Regions from separate parts of the Homo sapiens genome. Here all the other regions are linked to region 1. The links are contacts of gene promoters, found by promoter capture Hi-C in human tissues and cell types (Jung and others, 2019). All regions are on one chromosome and are shown on one strand. Each heading gives the region's core, a stretch centred on a gene start or on the middle of the fragment in contact. The rest is flanking DNA. Distances are from core to core; before and after follow the strand shown.

Evidence for each region. Contacts are between HindIII fragments. The study calls those that stand out against the background at their distance.
Region 2: a contact is called between a fragment that was not itself captured here and the fragment with the promoter of SNED1 in region 1, in 1 of the 25 tissues and cell types used here (lymphoblastoid cells).
Region 3: a fragment that was not itself captured here is called in contact with the fragment with the promoter of SNED1 in region 1 in 1 of the 25 tissues and cell types used here (dorsolateral prefrontal cortex).
Region 4: a fragment that was not itself captured here is called in contact with the fragment with the promoter of SNED1 in region 1 in 1 of the 25 tissues and cell types used here (H1 embryonic stem cells).

The regions. Positions count from the first base shown.
Region 1 is chr2:240,996,582-241,000,319 of GRCh38, forward strand. SNED1 (sushi, nidogen and EGF like domains 1) reads left to right here and starts at 2,037. Exons shown (of 32, transcript NM_001080437.3): 1 at 2,037-2,469. The coding sequence starts at 2,257. RefSeq lists a silencer at 1,669-2,088. The HindIII fragment of the contact is 20,006 bases long and covers 1-3,738 here.
Region 2 is chr2:241,715,166-241,718,903 of GRCh38, forward strand. All of the region lies in intron 5 of ING5 (inhibitor of growth family member 5), which reads left to right. Among named protein-coding and RNA genes, the nearest start is that of ING5, 15 kb to the left of the region's middle. The HindIII fragment of the contact is 9,714 bases long and covers 1-3,738 here.
Region 3 is chr2:241,678,159-241,681,896 of GRCh38, forward strand. DTYMK (deoxythymidylate kinase) reads right to left here. Exons shown (of 5, transcript NM_012145.4): 3 at 2,071-2,161; 4 at 294-491. Among named protein-coding and RNA genes, the nearest start is that of DTYMK, 6.8 kb to the right of the region's middle. The HindIII fragment of the contact is 3,955 bases long and covers 1-3,709 here.
Region 4 is chr2:241,514,176-241,517,913 of GRCh38, forward strand. No RefSeq gene overlaps it. Among named protein-coding and RNA genes, the nearest start is that of STK25, 7.5 kb to the left of the region's middle. The HindIII fragment of the contact is 7,266 bases long and covers 1-3,738 here.

The sequences.
Region 1 (3,738 bases), core at 787-3,286:
GGCTGGGCTCTGAGAGCAGAGCAGGAGCATGTGGTGGGAAGTGGATGGGTAGTAGGGACAGGGCAGGAGGTGGGCCAGCCCTAGTGGGGGTCAAAGCCTCACGTCCCCATGACAACACCTCTTCAGCGGAGAAATCCTGCCCTGGGGTTGGCACTGCCGCCTCCCACCTTCGCAAACTCACCGGAGGGGCCTTCCAGCCAGGCCCCAAATGCACTGAAAAGAGGGTAGAGGGCTGCCAGGTTTTTCTAGAAAAAAGACAAATAGAAAAGCGTTCTCCCTGATTCCCGCCACGGTGACGCCTGGCAGCTCTGTTCCCAACGCTGCTACATGGGGCCTTGTCCTGACTCCACGGCCTGTGCCAGCCAGAGGTGGGAGCAGCCCTCCCTGACCAGGGAGGCCAGGGCTGGGCTGAGGAAGGGGTTAAAGCATGTTCTTGAGGCCCCACGTATGGGCATATGCTGCCTCCGTGCATGTGAATAAGTATGCATGTGTGCGTGGACGTGTGTGCATGTGCGTGGAGACATGTCTCTCCTTGCCAGGCTCTCACCGAGAGCCGGCCTCAAGTAGGGATTCTACAGTTCCACGCCCTCTCTGGTGCCTCCCTCCAAAGACAGGAGGCCTTGACCTTTCTGGCCCTGGAACCATGGCTGTGCTGCTGTCCTGGAGCTCTGAAAGCTGGGACGGTGACCTAAGGGCTAACTGCGGGACAGAGCCCTTCCCCTCCCAGGCCCAGTTTGCCTCTCTGCAAACAGAATTGCCACCCCATGCAGGGTGGGAGAGGCGCCAGGGGCAAGCTTTCAGGAGGTGCCAGTGCAGGGTCAGCTCCTCCTTAACAATTCTGCACCCGGCCCTGACACCAAGTCTAAAGGGTCATGAACCTCTGAGTGAAAACACCAAGTGCAGGATCTGTGAGAACCGGCAACACCCAGTCACACGCAGAGAACCCTCCGCTGCTTCTTAAAAATAACATTGACTGTGCCTGGCTCTCACTGAAAAACAACACGTGCTCACTTGAGATATTTCAGAAGATACAAACGCAAAGACAAACAAAAAACCACCCAGCACCTCAGTGGTAGATGCAGTTACCATCAGCCCGGCCTTTCCTGCTTGTCTTCGAGGGGTGCACTCTTATCTTTGGGGGCCCCAGTGTGGCACGCAGCCAACACCACCCAACACCAGGATCTAAGAGAAGAGACCACGGTGGGCCGGGTGAGTTCCAGGAATCAGACCCTGCCATGGGCCTGGGGACATAGAGGTGGTCCCGGCTGAGGCCCTGAGGAAGGACAGACAGGCAGCCCAGGCCAGCAGCCCAAGAGACAGGGGGCAGGGCTGGCAGGCCACAGGGTGGGGACCCTGAATTCAAATACTGGGACTCAGAGTCCTGCCCCCACCTGCCAAGGCCGGTGTCATGCACGCACTTGCCCCCAGGGCCTGAGTGGGTCAGTCTTCCCCACGGAGGGTTTGCTTTACCCAGGGGTCGCCCCGAGGTCCCGAGCCTCCCAGGAATTTCTCCTGATGCGGCCACGCAGATGCAAACACTTTGTTCCATGCCTCCTAGTCTCCGGCCCGGGCTCTTCCTCACACAGACCCAGGCAGGGAGTGGGCTCCGGGGTTAGTCTGCCCCTGTGGCTGGAAGCCTGGCGTCCCCATGCTCAGGGCTGGGAAGGGGGCAGCACGGAACGGGTTCATTCAGGCACTGCCTGGCCAGGGTCCCCTCCCGCCCCCCGCGTGATGACACGCCTTCAGGGCGGGCCCAGCGTCTCAGGCCTTAGGGACACAGGTCTGTCCCAGGACGGCACTGAGGGCCCAGGCGCCTCCACCAGGGTAGGGACCCAGGGCGGAGCATGGCCCCACCACAGGGCGCGCGCCCGCAGAGCCCTCACCTTGCCTGTGCCCACGCCAGGGGACTGAGCTCCCCGCGCGCCCGCGCCCTCCCACGGGGCCTGGCGCTTTAAGAGACGCCCGATTTGCATGGCCCCGCCCCCCCGAGTGACCGCCGGGCTGGATATTTAAATCGTGGCCCCAGGGGCGGGGCTGGCCCCGAACGCGGTCCCGCCCGGCGCTTTCCTCTGCGGAGCTGCGGCGAGAGCGCGGCCCGGCCGAACGGGCGCGGGACGCGGAGCCCCCGACGGCGCGGCCAGCGGGCGCGCCCGCGCTCCCCGCACCCCGCCTGGCCCTGCCGGCCACCCCCGCGCGCAGCCTAGTCCCCCAGCGCCCTGCTCCGCCAGCGCCCCGTCCCGCCCGCACACCTCCGCGATGCGGCACGGCGTCGCCTGGGCGCTGCTGGTGGCCGCGGCCCTGGGGCTTGGGGCGCGCGGGGTGCGCGGCGCGGTGGCCCTTGCCGACTTCTACCCGTTCGGCGCCGAGCGCGGCGACGCCGTCACCCCCAAGCAGGACGACGGCGGCTCGGGGCTGCGGCCGCTCTCGGTGCCCTTCCCGTTCTTCGGTGCCGAGCACTCCGGACTCTACGTGAGTAACCCCCGGGCTCGCGGGGCGCCCGGGAGGGGAGGGAGCTGCGCCCCGGCCGCTGCCCGCCGGGCCCGGACTCCCGCCGCCGCCGCCAGCCACTTGGCACCGGGGCGGCCCGAGGTGGAATGAGGACAGCGCTTCCTCCTCGGCGGCCAAGGCCGGACAGCGGCCCGCGGGAGAGGCGCGCGGGCGGGGCGGGGGCGGCAGCCGCCGGGCACCGAGGCGGGGGCGAGTGGAGCGCGGCGCCCCGGCCCCTGCCAGACCTGCCGAGCGCGTCTTCCCGGCGCCTGATTCCCAGGGGAGAGCAGGGGTCCTGGTACTGCCCTGGTTTTCACACATGGCAATGTGGCCGTGGGCACGGGCTTCCCGGGCCTCAGTTTCCCAAGTGGGGCGCCGGGCCTGCGAAGGTTGCAGCCCCTCCTTGGGCCATTTCAGCCCCGCCCCCCGTGGACGCCAGTGCGGCCCAGAGCCAGGAGGCTGGACCCCTTGCCCAGGCGCTCAGGGCAGGGCCTGCTTCTTCGCTGACCCTCCTAGGCGGGCTAGCAACAGGCTTGCCCCTCCCTGCCGTCCTCTCCGCAGTCTGGGGGCTGGCCGCTCAGGCTCAGACTCTCCAAACAGGACTCCCAGTGGGACTCCTGGGGCCAGGGACTCATGACAGCAGGCTCAGCTCAGCTGAAGGAACAGGCCCGAGTGCCGGTTCTGTCTCCATGGCTCCCAGAGTGTGACCCCAGGCCAAGCCCTTATGGCAGCCCAGGGAATGAAATGCACCTGGTAACTGCATGGAGCACTCGCCCTGAGTAGGCCACGGTGCACTGGTACCTGGTGGTTCCCTGAAACACCCCAGATCATATCTAGAAAACTGCTGGGCCAGCCTCAAGTAGAGTCCCCTCCAGCTCCGTCACCACGGCCACCTCCACCATCAGCCCTCTCATACCCTCGCCCACCTCCAGCCTCAACCCACTGCCAGCCACATCGCCTCTGCCATCTGTGCTGCCCGGAGTAACACCACCTGTACTGCCAACTCCTCCGTCAACACCACCTCCTTCAACCCCACCACCAGCAGCACTGCCTCCACCACCACCTTCCCCATGGTCCCCAGCTTCCCGTCGTCACCATCCACATCCTCTGCATGGTTGTCATCATCCCTCCCCACCTCCATCCACAGGGCCTCCTCCACCACATGCCCTCTAGTGCGCCTCCCACCCCACAACTGCCAACACCATCCACAGCGCCCACTGCGTTTTCCACACCTGCTCAGGAAGGCCTCCC
Region 2 (3,738 bases), core at 876-3,375, 720 kb after region 1:
TTTCGTTTACCTATTTAAAATATTTTAGAATGTTTTTCTTGTTTTTTGAGATGAGGTCTCACTCTGTCACCCAGGCTGGAGTGTAGTGGCATGATCCTGGCTCACTGCAGCCTCCACCTCCTGGGCTCAAGAGATCCTCCCACTTCGGCCTCCCAAGTAGCTGGGACCACAAGTGCATGCCACCATGCCTGGCTAATTTTTTATATTTTTGGTAGAGATGGAGTTTCACCATGTTGCCCAGGGTGGTCTTAAACTCCTGAGCTCAAGTGATCCACCCACGTTGGCCTCCCAAAGTGCTGGAATAGAATTTTTTTTTTTTTTTTTTTTTTTTTGGTGAGACGGAGCCTCACTCTGTTGCCCAGGCTTGAGTGCAGTGGTGTGATCTTGGCTCACTGCAACCTCCACCTCCCAGGTTCAAGCAATTCTCTTGCCTCAGCCTCCTGGGTAGCTGGGATTACAGGCACGTATCACCATGCCTGGCTAATTTTTTTTTGTATTTTTAGTAGAGACAGGGTTTCACCATGTTGGCCAGGCTGGTCTTGAACTCCTGACCTCAGGTGATCTGCCTGCCTTGGCCTCCCAACATACTGGGATTACAGGCGTGAGCCACCGCACCTGACCTAGAATTTTTTTTTTCATGCTACTTCTTTGCCCTATAACTTATGTAGAAGTATGTGTCTCAATTTCCAAATAATTTGGGATTTTTCAGATACCTTTCTAATTTTAATTTTTTAGTTGACTTCTGTTGTGGTCAAAGAACATTACATAATTGAAATCCTTTGAAAGCCAGCTAATTTTTGTATTTTTAACAGAGACAGGATTTCACCATGCTGGGCAGGCTGGTCTCGAACTCCTGACCTCAAATGATCTGCCCACCTTGGCCTCCCCTCCCTGTAAAGTGCTGGGATTACAGGCATGAGCCACCGCACCCGGCCTTCATTGCAATATTTGGTCTGTTCATATTTAACATAATTAATGATATGGTGGGATTTAGGTTCACCATCTTGCTATTAGTTTTCTGTTTGTTCCTTCTGCTCCTTTGCTGTCTTCTTTTGGACTAATCAGGTATTTTTTAGTATTCCGTTTTTTTCCCCACTCTTGTCTTATTAGCCATGCTTTTTTTTTTTTTTTTTTTTTTGAGACGGAGTCTTGCACTGTTGCCCAGGCTGGAGTACAATTTGCAATGGCATGATCTTGGCTCACTACAACCTCTGCTTCCCAGGTTCAAGCGATTCTCATGCCTCAGCCTCCGCAGTAGCTGGGATTATAGGTGTGCGCCACCACACCCGGCTAATGTTTTTGTATTTTTAGTAGAGACAGGTTTTCACCATTTTGGCCAGGCTGGTCTCGAACCCCTGACCCCAAGTGATCCACCCACCTCGGCCTCCCAAAGTGCTAGGATTACAGGCGTGAGCCACTGCCCCGGCCCCTGTATTTTAAGGATTGTTCTAGTGTGTGCACTCAGTTTCCTTAAGTTATCACAGTGAGCTTCAGATATTACACTATTTGATGTTTAACGTGTGGCTCCACACAAGTGTTCTTCCATTTCCTGCCTTTGTGCTGTTGTCCTTCACTTTGCCTGTGATCTGAGCTTCCCAGCACGTTATTACCTTAGATGCAAACCACTGATGACGTGAAACACGCCTTAAAATATATGTGGAATGTAAAGATGTTGAACTCACAGAAGTAGAGAGTAGAATGGTGGTCAGGCGCTGGGGTGGTCAGGGGAGACGTTGGATACAGAATTTCATTTAGATAGGAGGAATAAGTTCAAAAGATCCGTTTTACAACATGGTGACTACAGTTAATAACAATATAGTCTCAAAAAAATGTGTAGATTTTAAGTGTTCTCACCACAAAAGTCACCCCATATATAGTTACCTCATATAGTTGCCATTTCTGGTAACCTTCATTTTTTTTTTTTTTTGAGACAGAGTCTTGCTCTGTGTCCCAGGCTGGAGTGCAGTGGTGCGATCTCAGCTCACGGCAACCTCTGCCTCCCAGGTTCAAGTGATTCTTGTGCCTCAGCCTCCTGAGTAGCTGAGATTACACCCACCTACTCACCTGGTTAATTTTTGTATTTTTAGTAGAGATGGGGTTTTGCCATGTTGGCCAGGCTGGTCTCGAACTCCTGGCCTCCAGTGACCCTCTCGCCTCAGCCTCCCAAAGTGGCAGGATGACAGGCATGAGCCACCGCGCCTGGCCCAACTATTATTTCTTAATATTTATTTTCTTTCTTTAAAAATTTTTTTTCCATACATATTCTGCTTACGTATATTTCTTTATGTGGATGCAAATTTCTGTCTTGTCATTTCTCCTCTACTGAAGAACTTTAACATTTTTTGCAGTACATGTATGCTGATGGTGATGAATTCTCTGTTTTTGTTTCTCTGAAAATGCTTTTATTTCACTGCGTATAGAATTTTAGGTTGACCTTTTTTCTTTTATCGCTAAAGATGTTCTCTCATTTTCTTCTGTCTTTCATTGATTCTGATGATAAATTACTGATAATAATTATTTTTGGTGGTTTCTTTTTTTTTTTTTGCTTTTAAGATTTCTCATTGTCACTGGCTCTTAACAGTTTGGTTATGATGTGTATTGGTGTGATTTTTTTGTGTATATTTTGCGTGGAACTTGTTGAGCATCTTTGAACTGTTGGTTTATACTTTGCATCGAATTTGGAAAATTTTCAGACAGTTCTTCCAGTATTTTTGTGCTCTCCTTTCTCCTCTTCCTGCTGTCCAGCTCCCTGTGCGTTCCTTAGCTTAGATTTTCTCACAGCTCACCGAGGCTCTGCTTACTTTCTGCAAGCTTTTTTCTTTCTGTACTTCAGTTTGATTTGTTTCTATTACTTTATTTATTTATGAGACAGGTTCAGGCTCTGTGGCCCAGGCTGGAGTGCGGTGGCGCAATCTCCGCTCACCGCAGCCTCTGCCTCCCGGGTTCAAGCCATTCTCCCGCCTCAGCCTTCCAAGTAGCTGGGATTACAGGTGAGCGTCACCACACCCGGCTAAGTTTTGTATTTTTAGTAGAGTCGGGGTTTCAGCCTGTTGGCCAGGCTGGTTTCAAACTCCTGGCCTCAAGTGATCCGCCCAGCTCAGCCTCTCACCTTCCCTTTCCTTCTTTCTTTCCTTCCTTCCTTTCTTCTTTCCTCCCTTCCTCCCTCCCTCCCTCACTTCCTTCCTCCTTCCCTCCCTCCCTCCCTTCCTCCCTCCCTCCCTTCCTTCCTTCCTTCCTTCTTTTCTCTTTCTGTCTTTTTTTTTTTTTTTTTGAGACGGTCTTGCTTGGTCACCCAGGCTGGAGTGCACTGGTACAATCTTGGCTCACTGCAAGCTCCGCCTCCCAAGTTCAAGCGATTCTCTGCCTCAGCCTCCCAAGTAGCTGGAATTACAGGCACGTGCCACCATGACTGGCTAATTTTGTATTTTTAGTATAGACAGGGTTTCACCGTGTTATGCAGGCTGGTCTCGAACTCCTGGCCTCAGGTGGATCTGCCTGTTTTTGGCCTCCCGATGTGCTGGGATTACAGGCGTGAGCTGCTGTGCCCGGCCCTAAGTTAGTTTTAATCTCCTTTAATACATTTTTCATTTAAGAGATTGTAGGGCTGGGTGCTTTGGCTCATGCCTGTAATCTCAGCACTTTGGAAGGCTGAGGTGGGAGGGTCACTTGAGTAGCCGGGATCACAGGCATGTGCCACCATTCCTTGGTAACCAGCTTTTAAAAAAACATAATCAGTCC
Region 3 (3,738 bases), core at 482-2,981, 680 kb after region 1:
ACTCGGGAGGCTGAGGCAGGAGAATCACTTGAACCCAAGAAGCGGAGGTTGCAGTGAGCTGAGATCGTGCCATTGCACTCCAGCCTGGGTTGGCACCCAGAGCAAGATTCTGTCTCAAAAAAAAAAGAATTTGCTGGCACCGAGAACCCCTGAACGACTACTCCCGGGGCTCCACATCTGGGAGGACCAGACGGAAACGGCAGCAGCTTTGCTGACACAACTGTGCCAGCCACCACGGTGTCATCCTGAGCCACTTCTCCACGCTTCCTAGTGTGCAATTCTGGGATTCTCACCTTCCAGTTCAAAGTCGTGTCTTTCATGAGCTGGTGGAAACACCGGAGCGCCCGCTCCTGGAAAGCCCCGTTCTCATAGCGCTCATGGCCAAACGCTCCCCGCTTGGCAGCATCCGCCAGCTGTAACTGGAGGAACAGGACCAGGTCGGGTTTGGGAAGGCCCACGTCTGGCTGTTTACACCAATCTAGGGAAAAATTCTGCCAAGAAAGAACCCAACAGTTAAAGCTTAGTGTAGTCTAGGTTTTTGTTTCGAAAGTCGTAAAAACAGGAAAAAATGAGGGGACATTTGGTGAGGTACCAAGATGTGAGACTGTTTATATTGTGGCTCGTTTAATTTTTAGAACCTCAAACGTGTCGGTTTCTCCAGTGTCACCTTTGTTTTTCCTTTGTAAACAGACAAGTGGACAGAAAAGTAGGTAGATAGAACGGCTGCCAGTCCCCGCCACCCACAGCCCAGGCCCCATGGAGGCCCTCCCAGCACAGCTACAGGCCTGCTGGCCAGGAGCAAACAGTCTATGTACAGAACCCCTGGAGACCCCCGGCCTAGAACGCCTGCAGCACAGAGCAGCTGGGTCCGGACACAGGCACGAGGTCCTTGGCAGTGTCTTTTCTGCCACACACACGCCAGGGTCTCCTCTCCCGTGGAAGAGCAGGAAGAAGACAGGCACTCCTAGAGCCTGTTATGTGCCAGCCTAGTCTCATCCACTGGCCCTTCTTGCCAGGGCTGTGCCAGCACCCTCTCTCCCTCCCTTACTCATCCCATCTCCCTCCAAATGCTGTCCTGTTTCCGGAGGAAAGGTAGGACCAGAAAGGCTGTGACTGCAGGCCACACATCACACAACAGCACAATGAGCTGAGGGAAGGCGTCCACGAGAACCTCCCACAGAGCCTGCGGCTCTGTCAGCTGATCCGCACAGCAGGAAGAAGCAAAGGAATCATGAGTCTTGTCCTCCTTATTATACAACGTAATACTTCAGAGGGGAAGGACTCAAGCTAACACATGAAGAAATGGCAGAATTAAAAAGTGAGGGCGTGGCCGGGCACGGTGGCTCGCGCCTGTAATCCCAGCACTTTGGGAGGCTGAAGCGGGAGGATCACTTGGGCCCAAGAGTTGTTATAGCGAGCTTTGCTTGTTCCACTGTACTCCAGCCTGGGCAACAGAGGGAGACGCCCTCTTTCAAAAAACGGGGGAAAAAAGTACTACAAATGAACCATCTTTGAAAATGCATCTGGAGGCTGGGTGCAGTGGCTCATGCCTGTAATCCTAGCACTTTGGGAGGCTGAGATGAGTGGATCACTTGAGGTCAGGAGTTTGAGACCAGCCTGGCCAACATGGTAAAACCCCGTCTCTACTAAAAGTATGAAAATTAGCTGGGCACGGTGGTGCATGCCTATAATCCCAGATACTCGGGAGACTGAGGCAGGATAATCGCTTGAACTCAGGAGGCAGAGGTTGCAATGAGCTGAGATCGTGCCACTGCACTCCAGCCTGGGTGACAGAATGAGAGACTGTCTCCCCAAAAAAAAAAAAAAAAGCGTGTGGAAAATATAATCCAAATACCAACTATGGTTCTATCTGTGAAACAATCTCTAGCTACATAAATGTTTGCTCTTCTTATTGATAAAACCAAATTAATCTAGCAAAGAGATAAAAGGAATATAAGAATCACGAAACTCTGCAGAGTAATCTGAGGCATGTCACTCGTACTCGCATTCAAGGGCAGTCCTGGGTCCACACATCTGTGCTCGCCTGACAGGAGGCCAAGTGGCACTCACCTCCTTGGCACCGGTGAAGGCCACACCAGAAAATGCGTATCTGTCCACGACGAGGGTCACGCCCTGGCTCAACTTTTCCTTAATTAACGGCCTGAAAAAGAGGATGCTCCTGAGCCCTGGTCCTGTTTCATAGGCCTTGAACTGTCAAGCTTAAATTATCCCAACAGGCTGTGCGCAGTGGCTCACCCCTATAATCCCAGCGCTTTGGGAGGCTGAGGCGGGCGGATCACAAGGTCAGGAGATCGAGACCATCCTGGCTAACATGGTGAAACCCTGTCTCTACTAATACAAAATATTAGCTGGACATGGTGGCAGGCACCTGTAATCCCAGCTACTCGGGAGGCTGAGGCAGGAGAATTGCTTGAACCCAGGAGGTGGAGGTTGCAGTGAGCCGAGATCACACCACTGCATTCCAGCCTGGGTGACACAGCGAGACTCCATCTCAAAAAAAGAAAAAGAAAATTATCCCAACAATACAACTCAGAAATCTCATATGACAACAAGTACAGCACAGTGATTTGTAACCTTACTTTTAATCCAAAAAGGTCTGGATCTTCTCTAGAAGATGCCATACCCACACCTCCAGCAAAACCCAACATGGAGAAGATAACCTTACTAAATAGTAACAAACACAACTGGTAAAGTTCAATGTTCCAGAAACACGGCAGGGGAAAGGAGATGCACTGTCAGCTGTCTTGGTCAGAGAGGCCAGCTCTACCCTGTCGAGGAAGAAGAAAGCACAGGCAAAGAAGAGAGCAGAGGATGGTGGCGGGGGAAGCGTGGGCACAGCCAGCAGGTGACTCATCCATGCTCATGACCCCTAGCCTGGACTGCAAGGATGTTCTCAGCCAAATACCACAAGTCCACCATCATCCCTACAGCTGCCAAGATCACAGATGTACAAAGACACGGGGCCTGACACTAGTGAGAAGCACTGCTCAAGACAGAGAAAGAAAAGTCCGATTCATTCGACTCAGCCAGTCTCACTGGGGCCTTCAAATCACAGGGGCACCCACATAAGGAGTCAACTGGCCTCTGACAAAGCAGCAGAGGGATGCAATGGTGCAAAGGCATTTTCCTCAATAAACGCTGCTGGAACAACTGGACATCCTCATGAAAGAGAATAAATCTAGACCAGACCGTATACCCTCCACGAACATAAATTCAAAATGAATCACAGGCCTGGCACGGTGGCTCACGCCTGTAATCCCAGCTTTCAAGGAGGCAGAGGCAGGAGGATTGCTTGAGCCCAGGAGCTCGAGACCTGCCTGGGCAATATAGTGAGACCCCGTTCTCCACAAAAAGTGGGGGAAAAAAAAGACAAAATGAATCACAGACCCAAATGTAAAATGCAAAACTATGCAACTCCTAGACAGTAACACAGGAGAAAACTTAGATCACCTGGGGTTTGGCAGACTGTTTAGATACAAAACCAAAGGCACAGCCCATGAGAGAATTGATTAAGATGGACTTCACGAAAATAATAACTTTGTGCTTTGTGAGAGACACTGTCAAGAGAAGGAAAGGACAGCCGGACGTGGTGGCTCATGCCTGTGAGCCCAGCACTTTTGGAAGCCATTTGGCGGGATGGATCCCTTGAGGCCAGGTGTTTGAGACCAGCCTGAGTAACAATAGTGAGACCCCATCTCTACAAAAAATGTAAAAATT
Region 4 (3,738 bases), core at 791-3,290, 520 kb after region 1:
AAAAAAAAAAAAAAAAAGAATTCCTTCAAGGGATGAAGAATCAGAGGGCATCACTTCTCATCAGCAACATGGGATGCTAGAAGATAGTGGAGAAATACATTCAAAATGTAGAGGTGAAACAGTTGTCAACACAGAATTGGTTACCAAGTATAAGAATGTAATAAAGACATTTTCAGATTTGCACTACTTGGGAAAGCAAAAAGTTTACAAGCAAATGTATCAGGTGTCTGTTGCTGCATGACAACTCCAAAACTCAGCGGCTAAAAACAATACTTTGTTTTGCTCAAGAATCTGCAATTTGGACAGGTCTTGATGGGGCACCTCTTTTCTGCTTCACATGTGCCAGCTGGGGCTGGAGGATCCAAGTTGAAGAAAACTCGCTTATGTGGCCACTCGGTCTGTACTGGTTGAAGGCTGGAGCTCATCCAGGGCTGTGAGCCTGGGGCCTCCATTCTTCTCACTGGCTTCTCGAGCTTTCTCACAGTGTGGTAGGCAGGAGAGGGGATGAGAAGGTTGCATTAGTCTGCTCAGGCTGCTATAACAAAATACCAGCCTATGACTATGACAATAGACATTTATTTCTGACGGTTTTGGAGGCTAGGAAGTCTGAGATTAAGATGCTGGCTGATTCAGTTCCTGGTGAGGCCCTCTTCCTGGCTTGCAAATGGCTGCCTTCTCACTGTGTCCTCACATGGCAGACAGAGAGCTCTCTGGTGTCTCTTTTCATGAGGGCCCGATCCTGTTGGATCAGGGATCCACCCTTATGAACTCATTTAACTTGCATTAACTCCTTGTAAGCTTTATCTCCAAATACATTGACGGTTAGGGCTTCAGCATATGAACTTTGGAGTAGAAGAGACACAAATGAGTCTGCAGCAGGAGATTCCAAAGGCTAGCATTCTGGAAGGAAAAGGTGCCAGTGCATGGCTTCGTAATGACCTGGCACAGTGCATGGCTTCGTAATGACCTGGCAGCTGGTTAGCACCACTTCCACCATCGTCATGGCTCACCCAGATTTAAGGGGGGAAAGCATGTAACTCACATTGTGAGACAAACATAGAGGAGGGAGGTAATGTTGAGGCCATCTTTGGAAAACACAAAGATGAGGGAATTATAGCTGTCACAGGCTCAGCAGTAATGTCTTAGGCTTAATAATGTAATTCCCATATGTTGATTTTTAACATTTATAATTATTCTCTATAGAACGTGAAGGTTTTCCACTTTAACCATGTAGAAGTAGAAGTAAGGAAGAAGATAGAAAAATGGCATCTAGAAGTAGGAGAAGAGAAAGGGAAACTGCACTTCAGTCTTAGTTCAGAAAATGTCAGAATCACTTTTAGTTTCAAGCCACCGAGAGCAAAGACAACAATATGAACTGCTGCCTGGCCACAAAAGCTAAGGTTTTTTTGGTGTGAGAAGAAAGCATAGGACACTTCGGTGGGTAAAGAATGTTTTAAAACTCCAAGTCTACGGGACGTTTACATATGTACCATATAATAATTAAGAGTGAGTACAGCAGGGCAAGGTGGCTCATGCCTGTAATTCCAACACTGGGAGGCCGAGGCGGGCGGATCATTTGAGGTCAGGAGTTTGAAACCAGCCTGACCAACATAGTGAAACCCCATCTCTACTAAAAATACAAAAAATTAGCTGGGTATGGTGGCACACGTCTGTGATGTGAGCTACTCAGGAGGCTGAGGCACAAGAATCACTTGAACCCAGGAGGCGGAGGTTGCAGTGAGCTGAGATTGTGTCATTGCACTCCAAACTGGGTGACAGAGCTAGACTACGTCTCGGGAAAAAAAAAAAAAATTAACTGGGCCTGGTGGCGGGCGCCTGTAGTCCCAGCTACTCCGGAAGCTGAAGCGGGAGAATCTTTTGAACCTGGGAGGTGGAGGTTGCAGTGAGCTGAGACTGTGCCACTGCACTCCAGCCTGGGTGACAGAGTGAGACTCCATCTCAAACAACAAACAAAAAAAGATACGTAGATTAATGAAATCAAATTCATTACCAGAAATAGACTTATGATCAATTGATTTTTTAAAAGTATGCCAAGACAATTCAGTTGGGAAATAATTACTTTATTTTAATTGTTTTGTTTTAGCTCTGTTCCAGCCAGTGAACAAAGGGGAAGAGTAATTTTTTCAACAAATGGTGCTGGGATCTTGCAGATACCTGAACATGTGCAAGCTGCTGGAGGGCAGCATGCCCAGGGAGGGCAGATAAGCTCTGTGCTCACACCCCCACAACACACACACAAACACACCCAACACACACACACACCCAACACACACACCCCCAGCACACACACCCCCAACACACGCACACCCCCAACACACGCACACAACACACACACACCCAACACACACCCCCAACACACACCCAACACACACACCCCAACACACACCCAACACACACACCCCAACACACACACATACCCAACACACACACTGAACACACACACAACACATACCCAACACACACACAACTCCAACACACACATACACATACCCAACACGCAACACACATGCACACCCCCAATACACACTCAACACACCCAACACAACACACCCAATACACACAACACACACCCAACACACACACACGCCCAACACATATACCCAACACACATCCCAACACATACACAACATACACACACACCCAACACAAACACACCCCCAACACACACACACCCCCAACAAACACACCCAACACACACCCCGAACACACACCCAACACACACACCCCAAACACACCCCCAACACACACACAAACACACCCAACACACACACACCCAACACACACCCCCAACACACACACCCCACCACACAACGTGCACACCCAACACACACACCCAACACACACCCCCAACACACACACACCCAACACACACACACCCAACACACACCCCCAACACACACACCCCAACACACACACACACCCAACACACATACACATACCCAACACGCAACACACACATGCACACCCCCAATACACACTCAACACACCCAACACAACACACCCAATACACAAAACACACACCCAACACACACAACACCAACACACACACCCCAACACACACATATACCCAACACACACACCTGACATATACACACACCCAACACACACACAAACATACACAACACACACATATACACCCCCAATACACACAACACACGCCCAACACACAAATACACAGCCCCAATACACACATGCCCAACACACACATATACCCAACACACATCCCAATACATACATAATGTACATACGCAACACCCAACACACACCCCAACACATACAACATACACATACCCAACACACACGAAACACACACAAAACACACACACACCAACACACAACACGTAGATACCTCAACACACACAATACACATACCCAACACACAACACGTAGACACCTCAACACACACACAACACACATACCCAACACACACACTAATACACTAATACACACAACACCCCACACCAACACACAAACATACACAACACATACACGTACACACACCCCAACACACAAACCCCAACACACACATCCAACACACACACACACAACTGGATATCCACATGCAAAAGAATGAAGTTAGACCCAATCAACTAAAAACGGATCATGAATTTGAATGTAAGCGCTAAAACTATAAAATAGCTTATTAGATATGACAAATGCACAAGAGACAAAATTTAAAAATAGATTAATTCAAATTCACCAAATTGAAAACTTGTA